2 separate regions of the Homo sapiens genome follow, and region 1 is linked to region 2. Evidence: promoter capture Hi-C in 16 types of primary human blood cells and fetal thymus (Javierre and others, 2016). All regions are on one chromosome and are shown on one strand. The core of a region is centred on a gene start or on the middle of the fragment in contact, and the rest is flanking DNA. Distances in the headings are between cores, read along the strand shown.

The links. Contacts are between HindIII fragments. The CHiCAGO score rates a contact against its expected background, and 5 or more counts as called.
Region 1: a contact is called between a fragment that was not itself captured here and the fragment with the promoter of HTT in region 2, in 1 of 17 cell types (neutrophils). The highest score is 5.4, in neutrophils.

What each region holds. Positions count from the first base shown.
Region 1 is chr4:2,010,075-2,013,989 of GRCh38, forward strand. LOC124900839 reads right to left here. Exons shown (of 4, transcript XM_047416543.1): 4 at 1-99. Among named protein-coding and RNA genes, the nearest start is that of NELFA, 3.1 kb to the left of the region's middle. The HindIII fragment of the contact is 3,743 bases long and covers 1-3,407 here.
Region 2 is chr4:3,072,999-3,077,273 of GRCh38, forward strand. It overlaps HTT (huntingtin), which reads left to right and starts at 1,683. Exons shown (of 67, transcript NM_001388492.1): 1 at 1,683-2,090. The coding sequence starts at 1,828. It also overlaps HTT-AS. RefSeq lists silencers at 739-1,358, 1,509-1,948, 2,059-2,128 and enhancers at 2,289-2,518, 2,529-2,578. The HindIII fragment of the contact is 9,982 bases long and covers 1-4,275 here.

The DNA of each region.
Region 1 (3,915 bases), core at 286-2,785, 1.1 Mb before region 2:
CTGGCGGCTTGAACTTGGCAGTCCTGCGGAAGTCACACGGGGGAAACCCGCAAATGCTACAAATCAGTGCTGGAGCGGTGGTTTTGTTGATTGCTTAAACTGAAGAAAGTGATAGAGAAAATGTTGATGATAAAGATTAAACTTAAAACTGTCATGTCGACAACCGTTACATTGCAAATAGCACATAAAATTTAAGAGAATATTTTTTAAATGATTCAAAAGTGTCGAATTCAGCAAAGACAAGTTATTGACTAATGGGTGAAGTTGTGACATCAGTGGGGCTAGTGCTGAAAGAAGTTTAATGATTAGGCCGGTCACGGTGGCTCACGCCTGTAATCCCAGCACTTTGGGAGGCCAAGGCGGGCGGATCACCTGAGGTCGGGAGTTCGAGACCAGCCTGGCCAGCATGGAGAAACCTCGTCTCTACTAAAAATACAAAACTAGCCGGGCTTGGTGGCGCATGGCTTGCCTGTAAGCCCAGCTACTCGGGAGGCTGAGGCAGGAGAATGGCTTGAACCCGGGAGGCGGAGTCTGCGGTGAGCCGAGATTTTGCCATTGCACTCCAGCCTGGGCCACAAGAGCAAAACTCCCTCTCAAAAAAAAAAAAAAAAGTTTAATAATTATAATCTGAGGGTAAGAAATAGTTTAACAGTGGACGACATATCAAATTTAGTATGAGAAGAGTGAAAGTTACTTCAAGTTGTGAAATCATGATTGAACCGTAAACATTAGTTGGTTGAAATGAAAATTTTTGTTCACAGAAACCTGTGTGCAAACGTTTATAGCAGCTTTATTTATAATAGCCCCAAACTTGAAACAATCCGAATGATTCTGACCCCCAACTGTCTGTAGCTTTCTGTAGGATACGCAGCACTTTTCTGTATACAGTGCTTGATGCATCTTGAGTCTTCAGTTTTATGCAGGAAAAATCCAAGTTAACATCTGGCTTAACCAAGAAGACAAACCACTAGGAGGACTTAGTTACAGCATCAGAAAGCAATGGATTAATATTCAGAATGAAAAAAGGAATGCTTGTAAATCGACGAGAAAAAGACCGACAATAGACAAATGTGCAGAAGATAAGAATAGGCAATTCACAGCCTGGCCATCATAGTGAAACCCCGTTTCTACTAAAAATACGAAAACAGTGGGGCGTGGTGGTTCATGCCTGTCATCCCAGCTACTCAGGAGGCTGAGGCAGGAGAATCGCTTGAACCCAGGAGGCAGAGGTTGGAGGGAGCGGAAATCACACCACTGAACTCAGGCGTGGGCCACAGAGCGAGACTCTGTCTCAAAAAAAAAAAAAAAAAAAAAAGCAATTCGTAGGAGAAACCCAAATACCGGAGAAGCACATGGAGAGATGCTTAAATTCATCAGCAACCTGACAAACCCAAATTAAAATAACAAGATGCCTCATTACACCTATCAGATTGCAAAATTAGAAAGCCAAAGTTTTTTTCATTTTAAAACATGGTATCCAGTTGTTCCCATATTATTTGTCGAAATGACGATCCTTTCTGGACTTTTCTATCCTGACTTACTCATCTATCTTTATGCCAATACCAGACTGTCTTGGTTACTATAGCTTTCTAAAATAAGTGTTGAAATCAGGTAGTGTTAATTCTCTGACTTTTTTTTTTTTAAAGTTATTTGGGTTATTTTAGGTCCTCTGTATTTCCTTTTTTTTTTTTTTTTTTTTTTTTTTTTTTGAGGCAAGGTCTGGCTCTGTTGCCCAAGCTGGAGTGCAGTGATGCAATCTCAGCTTGCTTCAGCCTCTACCTCCTGCGTTCAAGTAATTCTCATGGCTCAGCCTTGCAAGTAGCTGGGAATACAGGCATGCACCACCAAACCTGGCTAATTTTTGTATTTTCAGTAGAGACGGGGTTTCACCCTGTTGGCCAGGCTGGTCTAGAACTCCTGACCGCAAGTGATCCACCCACCTCAGCCTTCCAAAGTGCTGGGATTACAGGTGAGCCACAGTGCCCAGCCTGCATTTCCATATAAATTTTAGAATCGTTTGTCAATTTCTACAAAAAAAAAAAAAGGCTTCTGGCATTTTGAGTGGAATTGTGTTGAATCTGTAGGTCAGTTGAGGGAGAACTGGTAACTTCTGTCTAGTGAACATAGTATTTCTCTCTGTTTATTTGGGTCTTTAAATTCTCTCAGCTAGGCTCATGGCTATGTAATCCCAGCACTTTGGGAGGCCGAGGAGGGTGGATTGCTTGAGCCCAGGAGTTGGAAACCAGCCTCAGTAACGTGGCGAAACCCCATCTCTACAACAAATATAAAAAGCTGGGCTGGTGGTGCGCCTGTAGTCCCAGCTACTTAGGAGGTTGAGGTGGGAGGATCACTTGAGCTCAGGAGTTCAAGACCAGCCTGAGCCACATGGTGGGACTCTGTCTCTAAAAAATTAAAAATAAATTAAAAAATAAATTTTCTCAGCCCCATTTTGTAGTGTTCAATGTAAGGGTCTTGCACATCTTTTCAGAATTGCCTCCAAGTATTGCATAACCTTGATGTGGTTGTAAAGGGTGTTGTTTAAAATTTTTAATTTATCAGTGTTTGTCGCCAGTATATAGAAATACAACAGATTTTTGTGTGTTGATTTTGTATCCTGCAGCCTGGCTAAACGCATTTATTTGTTCCAGTAGTTTTTTCATACATTGTATTAGTTTTCTGCAAAGACAATCATGCCATTTGTGAAGGCAGTTTTATCTTTTTTTCTAATTTATTTGCCTGACTCTGCAACATAAAGAGTCCTTATTTTGGCTGGGCATGGTGGCTCACATCTATAATCCCAGCACTTTGAGAGGCTGAGGCAGGCGGGTCACCTGAGGTCAGGAGTTCGAGACCAGCCTGGCCAACATGGTGAAACCCCATCTCTACTAAAAATACAAAAAATTAGCTGGGCGTGGTGGCAGGCGCTTGTAATTCCAGCTACCCAGGAGGCTGAGGCAGGAGAATCGCTTGAAACCAGGAGGCGGAGGTTGTAGTTAGCGGAGATCGTGCCATTGCACTCCAGCCTGGGCAACAAGAGGGAAACTCCATCTCAAAATCGAGACCAGCCTGGCCAACATGGTAAAACCCCGTCTCTACTAAAAATACAAAAATTAGCTGGACGTGGTGGCAGGCGCCTGTAATCCCAGCTACTTGGGAGGCTGAGGCAGGGGAATTGCTTGAACCCGGGAGGCGAAGGTTGCAGTGAGTTGAGATCGTGCCATTGCACTCCAGCCTGGGCGACCAAAGGGAAAAAAAAAGTCCTTATTTTTACTTTAAAGCAATAAATTTTACAACTTTACTGAATTTCTAAAAAAAAACCCTAGTGGTATTTTGATTGGCTTTCCATTGGGTTTGTAGATTAATTTAGAGAGAACTGACATCTTTATATAGTATATGATACACAGACAAGCTTTCATTTTTCTTTCTTTATGATCTTCAGTAGACGTTACTATTTTTCTCCATACAGTTTTTTTTTTTTTTAAGAGAGGGTCTTACTCTGTTGCCCAGGCTGGAATGCAGTGGTGCGATCTCAGCTCACTGCAGCCTCCGCCTCCCAAGCTCAAGCGATTCTCATGCCTCAGCCTTTCAAGTAGCTGGGACTACAGGCATATGCTACCATGCCCAGCTAATTTTTGTGTTTTTCTCTTTTTTGATATAGAGTCTCGCTCTGTTGGTGAGGCTGGGGTGCAGTGGCGCGATCTCGGCTCGCTGCAACCTCCGCCTCCCGGGGTCAAGCAATTCTCCTGCCTCTCACCTTCCCTAGTAGCCTCCGCCTCCCGGGTTCAAGTGATTCTCATCGCTCAGCCTCCTGAGTAGCTGGGATTACAGGCATGCAACACCAAGCCTGGCTAATTTTTGTATTTTCGGTAGAGACGGGATTTCACCATGTTGGCCAGGCTGGTCTCGAACTCCTGA
Region 2 (4,275 bases), core at 433-2,932:
ACTTGCAGCCTCAAATTCCTGGGTTCAGGTGATCCTCCCACATCAGCCTCCCAAGAACTGGGAACTAACAGCTGTTTCTCTGCTGTCCTTCTCAAGAAAAGGGAGGCTACTGCTACCCCACTGGGGACAATGCTGGGTTTCCCTTTAGGACAGGCTCTGAGACAAGGCGGAGGTGCTGTTTGTGGCCACAGAGCAGGGGACTCTGGGTTGCAGGTGTGGCCTGGCTAAAGTAGGCTTTACTGGGCTCCTCTCTGCCTGCATCACCCCCCGGCTGGGCGGTTGTCTCTGAGGCCAACCTTACTCCCTGCTGGGCAGGCTGGACAGCTGCCCTCTCCGTTTGCCCCTCTACCACCCAAAAGGCAGGAGGCTCTGGAGACCAGGACCCTGCCCGCCACGGCCTGTGTCCCAGGCGTGAGGGGGTGCCCCACAGACCTCTGCTGAGCTGCTGCTGAATGACGCCCCTTGGGGGTCCTGCCGGAAGGTCAGAGCAGGGGTGCACTCCCATAAAGAAACGCCCCCAGGTCGGGACTCATTCCTGTGGGCGGCATCTTGTGGCCATAGCTGCTTCTCGCTGCACTAATCACAGTGCCTCTGTGGGCAGCAGGCGCTGACCACCCAGGCCTGCCCCAGACCCTCTCCTCCCTTCCGGGGCGCTGCGCTGGGACCGATGGGGGGCGCCAGGCCTGTGGACACCGCCCTGCAGGGGCCTCTCCAGCTCACTGGGGGTGGGGTGGGGGTCACACTTGGGGTCCTCAGGTCGTGCCGACCACGCGCATTCTCTGCGCTCTGCGCAGGAGCTCGCCCACCCTCTCCCCGTGCAGAGAGCCCCGCAGCTGGCTCCCCGCAGGGCTGTCCGGGTGAGTATGGCTCTGGCCACGGGCCAGTGTGGCGGGAGGGCAAACCCCAAGGCCACCTCGGCTCAGAGTCCACGGCCGGCTGTCGCCCCGCTCCAGGCGTCGGCGGGGGATCCTTTCCGCATGGGCCTGCGCCCGCGCTCGGCGCCCCCTCCACGGCCCCGCCCCGTCCATGGCCCCGTCCTTCATGGGCGAGCCCCTCCATGGCCCTGCCCCTCCGCGCCCCACCCCTCCCTCGCCCCACCTCTCACCTTCCTGCCCCGCCCCCAGCCTCCCCACCCCTCACCGGCCAGTCCCCTCCCCTATCCCGCTCCGCCCCTCAGCCGCCCCGCCCCTCAGCCGGCCTGCCTAATGTCCCCGTCCCCAGCATCGCCCCGCCCCGCCCCCGTCTCGCCCCGCCCCTCAGGCGGCCTCCCTGCTGTGCCCCGCCCCGGCCTCGCCACGCCCCTACCTCACCACGCCCCCCGCATCGCCACGCCCCCCGCATCGCCACGCCTCCCTTACCATGCAGTCCCGCCCCGTCCCTTCCTCGTCCCGCCTCGCCGCGACACTTCACACACAGCTTCGCCTCACCCCATTACAGTCTCACCACGCCCCGTCCCCTCTCCGTTGAGCCCCGCGCCTTCGCCCGGGTGGGGCGCTGCGCTGTCAGCGGCCTTGCTGTGTGAGGCAGAACCTGCGGGGGCAGGGGCGGGCTGGTTCCCTGGCCAGCCATTGGCAGAGTCCGCAGGCTAGGGCTGTCAATCATGCTGGCCGGCGTGGCCCCGCCTCCGCCGGCGCGGCCCCGCCTCCGCCGGCGCAGCGTCTGGGACGCAAGGCGCCGTGGGGGCTGCCGGGACGGGTCCAAGATGGACGGCCGCTCAGGTTCTGCTTTTACCTGCGGCCCAGAGCCCCATTCATTGCCCCGGTGCTGAGCGGCGCCGCGAGTCGGCCCGAGGCCTCCGGGGACTGCCGTGCCGGGCGGGAGACCGCCATGGCGACCCTGGAAAAGCTGATGAAGGCCTTCGAGTCCCTCAAGTCCTTCCAGCAGCAGCAGCAGCAGCAGCAGCAGCAGCAGCAGCAGCAGCAGCAGCAGCAGCAGCAACAGCCGCCACCGCCGCCGCCGCCGCCGCCGCCTCCTCAGCTTCCTCAGCCGCCGCCGCAGGCACAGCCGCTGCTGCCTCAGCCGCAGCCGCCCCCGCCGCCGCCCCCGCCGCCACCCGGCCCGGCTGTGGCTGAGGAGCCGCTGCACCGACCGTGAGTTTGGGCCCGCTGCAGCTCCCTGTCCCGGCGGGTCCCAGGCTACGGCGGGGATGGCGGTAACCCTGCAGCCTGCGGGCCGGCGACACGAACCCCCGGCCCCGCAGAGACAGAGTGACCCAGCAACCCAGAGCCCATGAGGGACACCCGCCCCCTCCTGGGGCGAGGCCTTCCCCCACTTCAGCCCCGCTCCCTCACTTGGGTCTTCCCTTGTCCTCTCGCGAGGGGAGGCAGAGCCTTGTTGGGGCCTGTCCTGAATTCACCGAGGGGAGTCACGGCCTCAGCCCTCTCGCCCTTCGCAGGATGCGAAGAGTTGGGGCGAGAACTTGTTTCTTTTTATTTGCGAGAAACCAGGGCGGGGGTTCTTTTAACTGCGTTGTGAAGAGAACTTGGAGGAGCCGAGATTTGCTCAGTGCCACTTCCCTCTTCTAGTCTGAGAGGGAAGAGGGCTGGGGGCGCGGGACACTTCGAGAGGAGGCGGGGTTTGGAGCTGGAGAGATGTGGGGGCAGTGGATGACATAATGCTTTTAGGACGCCTCGGCGGGAGTGGCGGGGCAGGGGGGGGGCGGGGAGTGAGGGCGCGTCCAATGGGAGATTTCTTTTCCTAGTGGCACTTAAAACAGCCTGAGATTTGAGGCTCTTCCTACATTGTCAGGACATTTCATTTAGTTCATGATCACGGTGGTAGTAACACGATTTTAAGCACCACCTAAGAGATCTGCTCATCTAAGCCTAAGTTGGTCTGCAGGCGTTTGAATGAGTTGTGGTTGCCAAGTAAAGTGGTGAACTTACGTGGTGATTAATGAAATTATCTTAAATATTAGGAAGAGTTGATTGAAGTTTTTTGCCTATGTGTGTTGGGAATAAAACCAACACGTTGCTGATGGGGAGGTTAATTGCCGAGGGATGAATGAGGTGTACATTTTACCAGTATTCCAGTCAGGCTTGCCAGAATACGGGGGGTCCGCAGACTCCGTGGGCATCTCAGATGTGCCAGTGAAAGGGTTTCTGTTTGCTTCATTGCTGACAGCTTGTTACTTTTTGGAAGCTAGGGGTTTCTGTTGCTTGTTCTTGGGGAGAATTTTTGAAACAGGAAAAGAGAGACCATTAAAACATCTAGCGGAACCCCAGGACTTTCCCTGGAAGTCTGTGTGTCGAGTGTACAGTAGGAGTTAGGAAGTACTCTGGTGCAGTTCAGGCCTTTCTCTTACCTCTCAGTATTCTATTTCCGATCTGGATGTGTCCCAGATGGCATTTGGTAAGAATATCTCTGTTAAGACTGATTAATTTTTAGTAATATTTCTTGTTCTTTGTTTCTGTTATGATCCTTGTCTCGTCTTCAAAGTTTAATTAGAAAATGATTCGGAGAGCAGTGTTAGCTTATTTGTTGGAATAAAATTTAGGAATAAATTATTCTAAAGGATGGAAAAACTTTTTGGATATTTGGAGAAATTTTAAAACAATTTGGCTTATCTCTTCAGTAAGTAATTTCTCATCCAGAAATTTACTGTAGTGCTTTTCTAGGAGGTAGGTGTCATAAAAGTTCACACATTGCATGTATCTTGTGTAAACACTAAACAGGGCTCCTGATGGGAAGGAAGACCTTTCTGCTGGGCTGCTTCAGACACTTGATCATTCTAAAAATATGCCTTCTCTTTCTTATGCTGATTTGACAGAACCTGCATTTGCTTATCTTCAAAATATGGGTATCAAGAAATTTCCTTTGCTGCCTTGACAAAGGAGATAGATTTTGTTTCATTACTTTAAGGTAATATATGATTACCTTATTTAAAAAATTTAATCAGGACTGGCAAGGTGGCTTACACCTTTAATCCGAGCACTTTGGGAGGCCTAGGTGGACGAATCACCTGAGGTCAGGAGTTTGAGACCAGCCTGGCTAACATGGTGAAACCCTGTCTCTACTAAAAATACAAAAATTAGCTGGTCATGGTGGCACGTGCCTGTAATCCAAGCTACCTGGGAGGCTGAGGCAGGAAAATCGCTTGAACCCGGGAGGCAGAGTCTGCAGTGAGTTGAGATCACGCCACTGCACTCCAGCCTGGGTGACAGAGCGAGACTCTATCTCAAAAAAAATTTTTTTTAATGTATTATTTTTGCATAAGTAATACATTGACATGATACAAATTCTGTAATTACAAAAGGGCAATAATTAAAATATCTT